2 separate regions of the Homo sapiens genome follow, and region 1 is linked to region 2. Evidence: promoter capture Hi-C in human tissues and cell types (Jung and others, 2019). All regions are on one chromosome and are shown on one strand. The core of a region is centred on a gene start or on the middle of the fragment in contact, and the rest is flanking DNA. Distances in the headings are between cores, read along the strand shown. Region 1 holds the start of LINC01153 (long intergenic non-protein coding RNA 1153). Region 2 holds the start of NSMCE4A (NSE4A component of SMC5/6 complex).

The links. Contacts are between HindIII fragments. The study calls those that stand out against the background at their distance.
Region 1: a contact is called between a fragment that was not itself captured here and the fragment with the promoter of NSMCE4A in region 2, in 1 of the 25 tissues and cell types used here (hippocampus).

Annotation. Positions count from the first base shown.
Region 1 is chr10:121,178,223-121,182,421 of GRCh38, forward strand. LINC01153 (long intergenic non-protein coding RNA 1153) reads left to right here and starts at 315. Exons shown (of 2, transcript XR_246197.3): 1 at 315-750. All of the region lies in intron 1 of LOC124902515 (a long non-coding RNA gene), which reads right to left. The HindIII fragment of the contact is 4,166 bases long and covers 1-4,071 here.
Region 2 is chr10:121,972,632-121,977,171 of GRCh38, forward strand. NSMCE4A (NSE4A component of SMC5/6 complex) reads right to left here and starts at 2,586. Exons shown (of 11, transcript NM_017615.3): 1 at 2,243-2,586; 2 at 1,373-1,450. The coding sequence starts at 2,534. LOC124902517 (a long non-coding RNA gene) reads left to right here and starts at 2,236. Exons shown (of 2, transcript XR_007062322.1): 1 at 2,236-3,524; 2 at 3,657-4,540. RefSeq lists a silencer at 1,988-2,787 and an enhancer at 2,225-3,020. The HindIII fragment of the contact is 19,014 bases long and covers 1-4,540 here.

The DNA.
Region 1 (4,199 bases), core at 739-3,238, 800 kb before region 2:
AGCAATTTATCTATAAATATCCCAATATGTATATCTACAATATAAGGATACTAAAAAATACCTCAATAATACTACCACACCTAATTCTTATATGGTTAAGAATTAACAATTCATTAGTATCTTAATATTGCCAAGTATCTAGACCATATTCCAGTGTTCACATTTCCTTGATTATCTCAAACATTTTTAAATTGTTTGTTCAAAGGTGGTTTCAAATTAGGTCCATACAATGAGACTAAATTGGTCGGTAGTCTGTAAAGGCTTTTTAAAATATATATGCTCCTCCTTATCTCTCTTTTTTATATCTTCGTAACTTTTTTTGTTGAAGAAACTGGGTCACTTATCGTGTAGAATTTCCCATAGTCTGCACTTCGCTGATTCCATCCCTGAGGAATTAACCTGTTCCTCTGGACCCTGTACTTCCCGTAGTTGGCAGTTGGATCTAGGCTCTGGATCAGATTCAAGTCTGATTGCTTTGTAAGACCACCTCATGAGTAGAGCTGTGTTCTTCCATCAGTCAGGTTGCTTCTCTGTTTGTGATGTTTGCAGCCATTGATGATCACTGCCTAGATCCATTAATTCATTAAGGTCTGCAAAAGGACCCTCTCTTCTCCACTCTGTCTCCCAGGTAGGAACCTCTGAAGCTGAGGACGTATTCTTGCTGGCTTCATTATTGTCATCATTCCTCTTCGTGACCTATTACACATTTCTGAAGAGAAACTCCTCTCACCAGCTCCTTTGTTTCCTAAGGTAGGGTTCTTATAGAAACAAGATAAGCTTTCCTCTTTCTTTCATTTACCAATTTTCAAACTAATGAGTTGTACCCTAGCATTCTGCAAGAGTGACCCATGATTTTCCTAGCACCATTTGGAACTCATGGATTAAAACATATTCGATGTGTTTCAATCCCTCTTAGTTTTTATCTTTATTGATGTTGAAATATTTGCCCTGAGGGAGGTTTTGCAAGTTGTCTCCTGAGTCTTTTTGACATGTTTCTTCTAGTCTTTGATAGTTTTTTGGCTTTCAGTTATGACAATTGCTCCAGGCTCACCTTGTTTATTTCCTCCCAGACCTGGAATCCTCCATCTTGCCAAGAAGCTTTGGTTCTGTCCAATAGAACCACAATCTGGGTGATAGGTGTTCCCATTGCTACTGGTTTGGTCATTCTTTCCAGGCCTTTTAAGCGGACAGACCTTGAGAAAAATCTATCAAGTTCATACTGATACTCCTCATTCAAAATCAAGACTGTAAGATTTTACCTAAATTCCTTGATCTTAATCTGCATCCACAAAAATCCCATTTTTCAGTGACACCAATATAATTATTCATTTGCTTTATCCCACACCATACTTAGAACAATAGCAGAATAATAATATAAGCATTAGCACCAAAATATGATTACTAAAAATAGTTTAATTTTTTTTTAAGTTCTTTTTATCCTTAGGGTATATACTCACCAGGGACATGCTGTCAAGTTATCTTATTTAAAAGTCACTTGGAGCAGTTCCTGTCTCTGCTTATGCCATCAGCTCAATCCAGAGTTAGGTTCATTTGTTTCATTTTATCATCAGCTTTTAGAGACTAGCTTTTTAAATTTTAGTGTTATAATTTGGTTTCACAATTATGTAAAACATTTGTATGATTCCAAAACCAAATTTGAAACTCAAAATGTAAGTAACAAGGCTAGCTTTCATCTCTGAACTCTCCACACTATTCCTTTTTTCCTCAAAAATAACTTATTTTAAAAATACATTTTATTCTTCCTTTTTAATACAAGCAAATCATATATGTGATTATATATTTATGTGTGTACATAATATATATATCATATATGTGATTATATACATGATTATATATGTGTGCCTATATGTATGTATATATAATCATACACACAGATACACACACATATATATTCCCTTTCTTTGATAAATAACAGCAGACTATTCTTTTTTCTGCCTTGGATTCACTTAACATGCCTTGGAAGTCACTCCACAGCTATCACAGGGTTCATCCTCATTTCTTTTCATAGCTGCATAGTACATACTCAATCATGTAGCTGTCCTATAGTTTATTTAACCTGTTCCTTACTGGTGGACATTTGGGTTGTTTTCAGTCATCTGCTCTTATAAAAAGTGCTGTGATGAATAGCCTGTGTATCTGTCTTTTCATATTTTTGCCAAGGTATCTTGGCGATTCCTAGAAGTGGCATTGCTGGGTCATAGGCTAAATGCCCATGTGGTTTTGCTAGATAGTGCCAGTCTCCTCCCTGGGATTGTCCCATTTCATATTCCTCCCAGAATTGAATGAGAGGGCCTGTTTCCCCATAGGTCTGCCAATACAGCATGTTGTCAACCTTTGGGGTTTTGACATCCGATAGGTGAGAAATGGTACGTTGGTATAGTTTTTATTTTACATTTATCTTATTATTAATGAAGTTGATTATCTTTTCATACTGTTAAGAGAGATGGCCGGGCATGGTGGCTCACACCTGTAATCCCAGCACCTTGGGAGGCCGAGGCAGGCAAATCACTTGAGGTCAGGAATTCGAGACCAGCCTGACCAACATGGTGAAAGCCCATCTCTACTAAAAATACAAAAATTAGCTGGGCATGGTGGTGGGTGCCTGTAAGCCCAGCTACTCGGGAGGCTGAGGCAGGAGAATTGCTTGAACCTGGGAGGTGGAGGTTGCAGTGAGCCAAGATCGCACCATTGCACTCTAGGCTGGGTGACAGAGTGAGACTCCATCTCAAAAAAAAAAAAAAAAAAAAAAAAAAAGAGAGCGACAGAGAGATATTTGGATTTCTTTTTCTGTCAATTATTTGCTTATATTTCTAACCCATTTTTCTACAGAAAGATTTGCCCTAAGGGGGCAAATATTTGAACATCAATAAATATACTATCCTTAGTATATTTTTCTACAGAATTGTTGTAGTTTTTCTCCTCCATTTTAAGGAGCTTTTTCAAATACATTAGGGCTATTAATAATTTGTCTCTAATATAAGCTGTGAATATTATTTTTCCTAGTTTGTCATTTGTCTTATCTTACTCATGGTGGTTTTTATTTTTTTGTTGTTGTTGATTTTTTTGTCACACGAAGTTTTTTTTATTTCAATACAACCAAATTTTTCAATCTTTTCCCTTACCATGTCTGGATTTGAGCCGTAATTCAGAAAGCTTCACAATCTCCAAGGATAGAAAGCCATTTGCCAATATTTTCTTATTTTTACAGTTTCAGTTTTTATATTTAAATCTCTTGTCTACTTGGAATTTAACCCAGTATATGGAGAAACAGGTCCGATTTTGTTTTTTTTCCAGTTGCTATCTACTTATCCCAACACCCCTTGCAGAGAAGTTCATTCTCCCACCAATTTGCGATGCCACCTTTCTCATCTACAAGTCTCCACGTGCAAGTGGGGCTATTTCTGGGTCTTCTACTTTGCTTTGTCAGTCTGCCTATTCACATGCCAGTATAACCTGTTTTGATAACAGAGGTTTTCCAGTATGTTTGGATGTCTGGTGGGACTTTTTTTTCTTATTGCACTTTCTTTTCAGAGTTTTCTTGGCTTTTTATTCATCCATTCTTCCAAACAAATTTGTCTGCCTTCCAAGTGGAATTTTTGCCAATTGCTCAATTTTCCAAAAACGAATTGACACCTGTTCGACTTCATTGACGACCCAAGTTGGCTGCTTGGTCACAGAGCCTGGAACATAGTAGGTGTTCAAAAAATGTCAATAGACGTGAAGTGCCTGGAGATCTTTGGCTGGAGGTTAGCATACCATCTCAACATCCCACAGCAAATGTTAATCCTAGATGATGATTCTACAAAGAGTTTAATCCCAATTACTTCAGTATAACTGAAAACAAGACTGATTAATAATACTTAAGAATTTTTTAAAAATAGAAAAATAATACCCTTCACATTGGTGTGCCTCCAATGAGGCAGTTTACTAGACTTTGAGGGACTCTTTTCACTCAGTGCTCTTTTAAATGTTTTGAATGTGTGTTACATGCATGGATTGTTTACATAGTCACTCAACAAATTTCATGTCATTCATTAATCCAAGTTACTGCATCTCAGTTAATTCAGGTGGGAAATTTCTTTCTCGTGTACTCTATGCATATGACATTTGGGACACTTGGCATCTGGTGAAGAGGGAACCACAGGCTTCTATCTGGGCTAGCCTGTGGGTGACCAGGT
Region 2 (4,540 bases), core at 1,336-3,835:
TGCACAGTAAATATCAAGGGAGTAATTGAGTCAAGTCAAGCAAGACTAACAGTAAGGAGACTGGGAGTCCAGGCTGCGAAGGGAAGACAAAACTTAAGAGGGTAGTAGAGGGATTTAACCAGGTGAAGGAGAAACACCCGGTTCCTGAAGGTTTTGATGAGAGTTAGCAAATGCGGTAGACTAAGATGGGGAATGGTAAGGAGGCTGTGGTCAAAGAAATTGGAGAGCATATATAAAGTGATAAAAGGAGACATTTAAAGAACTAGTCATCCTCAGCAATGACTAAAAATATACGTTCTAGTCCTTTAAGAATATGAGGAACCAGCCGGGGGCGGTGGCTCATGCCTGTAATCCCAGCACTGTGGGAGGCGGAGGCAGGTGGATTACCTGAGGTCAGGAGTTCGAGACCAGCCTGGCCAACATGGCGAAACCCGTCTCTACTAAAAATACAAAAATTAGCTGGGTGTGATGGAGCACACCTGTAATCCCAGCTACTCGGGACGCTGAGGTAGGAGAATTGCTTGAACCTGGGAGGTGGAGGTTGCAGTGAGCCGAGATTGTGCTACTGCACTCCAGCCTGGGCAACAGAGACTCCATCTCAAACCTCAAAAAAAAAAAAAAAAAGGATATATTTGGCTGCATTCTCCCCTATGTTCCCACAGACCCGTCAGAGAGGGCTGGAGGGGACAGTGGTCTGGGTAGTAGTCCTGTGGCTCTATGACCAAGTACCCACATCAGGGAGTACCCCTCTGTCACCAAGCAGACAGACAGCTGCTACCAATACCACTGCCTCTGCTTTCAATTCAAACTAAGGTTATTTTTTAAAGCACCCATGGCCTAGAGTTCAGTGCTCTGGGATCTCTCTCACTCACTCACTCACACACAACACACCCCAGACTGGAGACCAGCAGGTACACTTGCAGGCTTTGCCACCTCCATTGTGTTACACGTGGACCAATAGCAGGGAGCTGAGGAAGGCAAAACAGAATGGGACAGGAAAAGAAACAGGATTTCAGAGGCTAGCTCAGTTCTGTAATTCATCCACTCAACCAATGTATACTAGGGATACGGCAGTAAACACAAGAAAAAGAAACAAGATAACACATGTAACGTTCTCAAACTTGAAGAGGCAACAGAATCAACTGGGGGCTTAACACAGACTGCGGAACCTACCCCCAAATTTTCATGTAAAGCCCTTATTATATGGTAAGTGCATAATAAAAATGGCATTATTGCTATAATGAAACGGTTCCCGAACTGGGAAAGCACTATTACAAATGTGGGAATTGTTTTATGTCAATAATTTGGCGCTTATGTAACACTAATTAAAAGTATCATAAAACACGAAATAACATATAAAATAACAAATTACCTTCATTAAACAGAGTGTTAGCCTCTTCAAGGACCTCTGTTAATTTGTCACCGGCATTCAGTATGTCCTCACGGTTTTCTATTTTTAAAAATACAAACTTTGGGAAATTTGTTCAGCATTCACTAATAAGCAGTTGACAAGGTTATCACCTGCAACAGTAAAGCCAAGCCCCGGCCCCTGCGCTCTGAGTAATTACTTCGAACATCTTTATCTTTTTAACCAAAATGACCCGGAAAAGGAGAAAGGCCACCCTACCCTTTATGCAGCATGAATTTTAAAAGGAAACCCTAGCTCCCTCTAACCTTAACCCAAAGGGCTGGACTCCGGCTGCAGCCTCTGAGTGCTCCATAACTGAGTGGTTCTCAAACTTTGCAAGCAATACACACCATCACCTGGAGGGCCACTCCACAGTTGCGCGGACCCACCCAGAGATTCGAATTCCGCGGGTCCGGGTGGGGTCCGAGAACGTGCATTTGACAGCTCTCGCGTGCCGCTGCAGCTGCAGCTGCCGCTGCGAGGCCGGGAGCCCACGCCGAGGACTGCCGGGCGCAATCAAAGCACGCGGAGTCCGCGTCCTGCCTCTCCCCACTGGCTGGCTGGGCTCGGGCGAGTCCGCGAACGGCTCTGGCCTCCAGCTTTTCCAGCCCGCCACTCGGGGACCCGCGCCAAGGTCGTACGGCTCCAGCCACAAAGTGGGAGCACTTTGTCAACAATTTAAGGTGCGGCGAGGGGCTGGCACCCGGCGCGTCTCTACTAACGCCGCGCCGGGCCTCCGCCCGGCACCTGCCTCCGGTGCCCTCCCCCCGCGCCCGGCGCAGGGCGGGGACAGCGGCCCGTCCGGGCCCGCGCCGCCCGGAGGCGCCGCCTTACGTTGGACGGAGTTGATGAGCGCCCGGTACTGATGGCGGATCTGGCGGCACAGGCCTTGGTCGGCCTCCGCCTCCAAGCTGGCCGGGTCCATCATCTCGTCCCCGGAATCCGACGGCTCTGTGTCCTCCAGGCTCGGGCGCTCTGGGGCCTCTCTGCGCTCCCGCGCAGAGCCGCGGCGGGACCTGGGCGACAAAGGGGACCGCGAGCGGGAGCGGGAGCGGGTGCGATCCCGATGCGGGTCGCGGCCCCGGCCCCGGCCCTCTGGCCCGCGGCCGCTGCTGTCCCCAGACATAGCGCCAATTCACCGTGCAACTTCGGAACGGCGGAAGTTCGCGCCAGAAACTGAAACCCCTGCTCTGCGCCAGCGCCTGCTCCCGGCGGAACGCGGCTCCCGGGCCCGCGCGAGCGCACAGCGACGCCTGTGGCTGGAGGCCGGCGACGGGCCCGGCCGGGTCTCCAAGGCGCCTGGGGGGACCGCTGGGTGCACAAGAGGGGCCTGGCGGGGATCCTTTGTTCCCTTGACAAGAGGTGTAATGAGCTCTTACTCCACACTGCAGGGCTGTGAGAATCTTGGTTTTCTGCCCCTACTTTCCCACCCTCCTGGACCTGCATCTTCCCTAGGTCCCTTTGCCTGCCCAGGACACAGCCGCAGCCTGGCACCCACATGGGCACGCAGTCCATGTGTGTTGAACGAGCTTCCTGCTGTGGAGCAGGATGAGCGCGGGATGTGGAGTCCAGACGCGGTCTGCTGCTCACCTGCGACCTCAGTTTCCCTGTGCCATCATGGCTGGGGTCGGGGGGGTGGGGAACAGGGGTGGGTGGATGAATCAAATATTTATGTGCAGCTGGCAATACCATTTTTTGTGAGGATAGCAGAACAAATTAACAGGTAAACATCCTTCTAAATATCTACAACAGAATGTCACCAGAGCACCAGGGTTTTGTTCTAGGACCCGCTGCCCCCTCACAGAAATCACTGAGAAAACCATTATTACCAAGGAAGAAGGCTTTAGTAGGGTGCTGCACTCAGGGAGTTGGAAGCTCAGTCTCAAATCCATTGCCCTGACCAACTAAAATTAAGGGTTTATACAGTTGCAGGGAAGCAATGTAACAATGTATGGGAAAAGAGGAACTCGGGAGGGGGAAGGAAGCTATGGGGATGCATGAGGGGCTTGGCATCTCATTGTCTGGAATGCGGTGATATGGCGAGTTTCAGTTTTTTGATACTTTTTGAGAGGCTCTGGAGGTCCTTTCCTGAGGAAGGAACTCAGATAAAACAAAGGTAAGTTTCAACCTTAAGACTAGAAATGATAATTTCTAAGTTTATTAAAAAAATAGTAAACAGTCTATGGGATTGTTGGGTTGATTTTAATGACAGTCTATGTTCACATTTGATTTTTTTTTTTTTTTTAAGACCTTGCTCTGCCGAGGCTGGAGTACAGTGGCACTATCTTGGCTCACTGCAACCCCATCTCCTGACCTCAAGTGATCCGCCCACCTCGGCCTCCCTAAGTACTGGGATTACAAGCATGGGCCACCAGGCACAGCCTGATTCTGATTCTCAAACTAGAAGATTCTAAGAATACCTCCTGAAGGGCCCAAGAAAGATGGAATTATGTTAAGTATACTTTGAAAGATAAATGTATGAATTTCACTCCGTGCATTTTGGATTGTATTCGAGTATTGTTTCCCAAAAGTTGTCTTTGGTGCTAAGAACACATTTTCTCAAAAGACCAATATTATAAGTTGGGTTATTACACAACCTACAAATATTCCATTTTGTGCATCATGTCTACTAAACTTAAGTTAGGCACTGTTCATTGCTGTCCAACAGCTACTACCTCACCCATCCCTGCTTATCTGTATTTCCTGAAGGGGACGTGTGTGCCTACTTCCTTAGATGAAACGTGATCACTCTAACCAGGTCACGGTAATGTCATTCCCCTTCCCCAGTGACTGGTCAAGGGTCATGTGATGCAACCTGGGTCCGTGAGATGTGAAAGGGTTTCCCAACTGGATGGAATACAAACCTTCCTGAAAAGAAAACCCTTGACCCCCTACCCCCTTTGAGATGGCTGGCATAAGAAATGGGGAACCTGCCAATTAGCGGGCATAATGGTGCGTGTCTGTAATCCCAGCTAATCGGGAGGCTGAGGCAAGAGAACTGCTTGAAGCTGGGAGGTGGAGGTTGCAGTGAGCAGAGATCGCGCCATTGCACTCCAGCCTGGGTGACAAGAATGAAACAACGTCTGAAAGAAAAAATGTGGAGCCTGCCATATTGGCAGCATCTGGTACTCA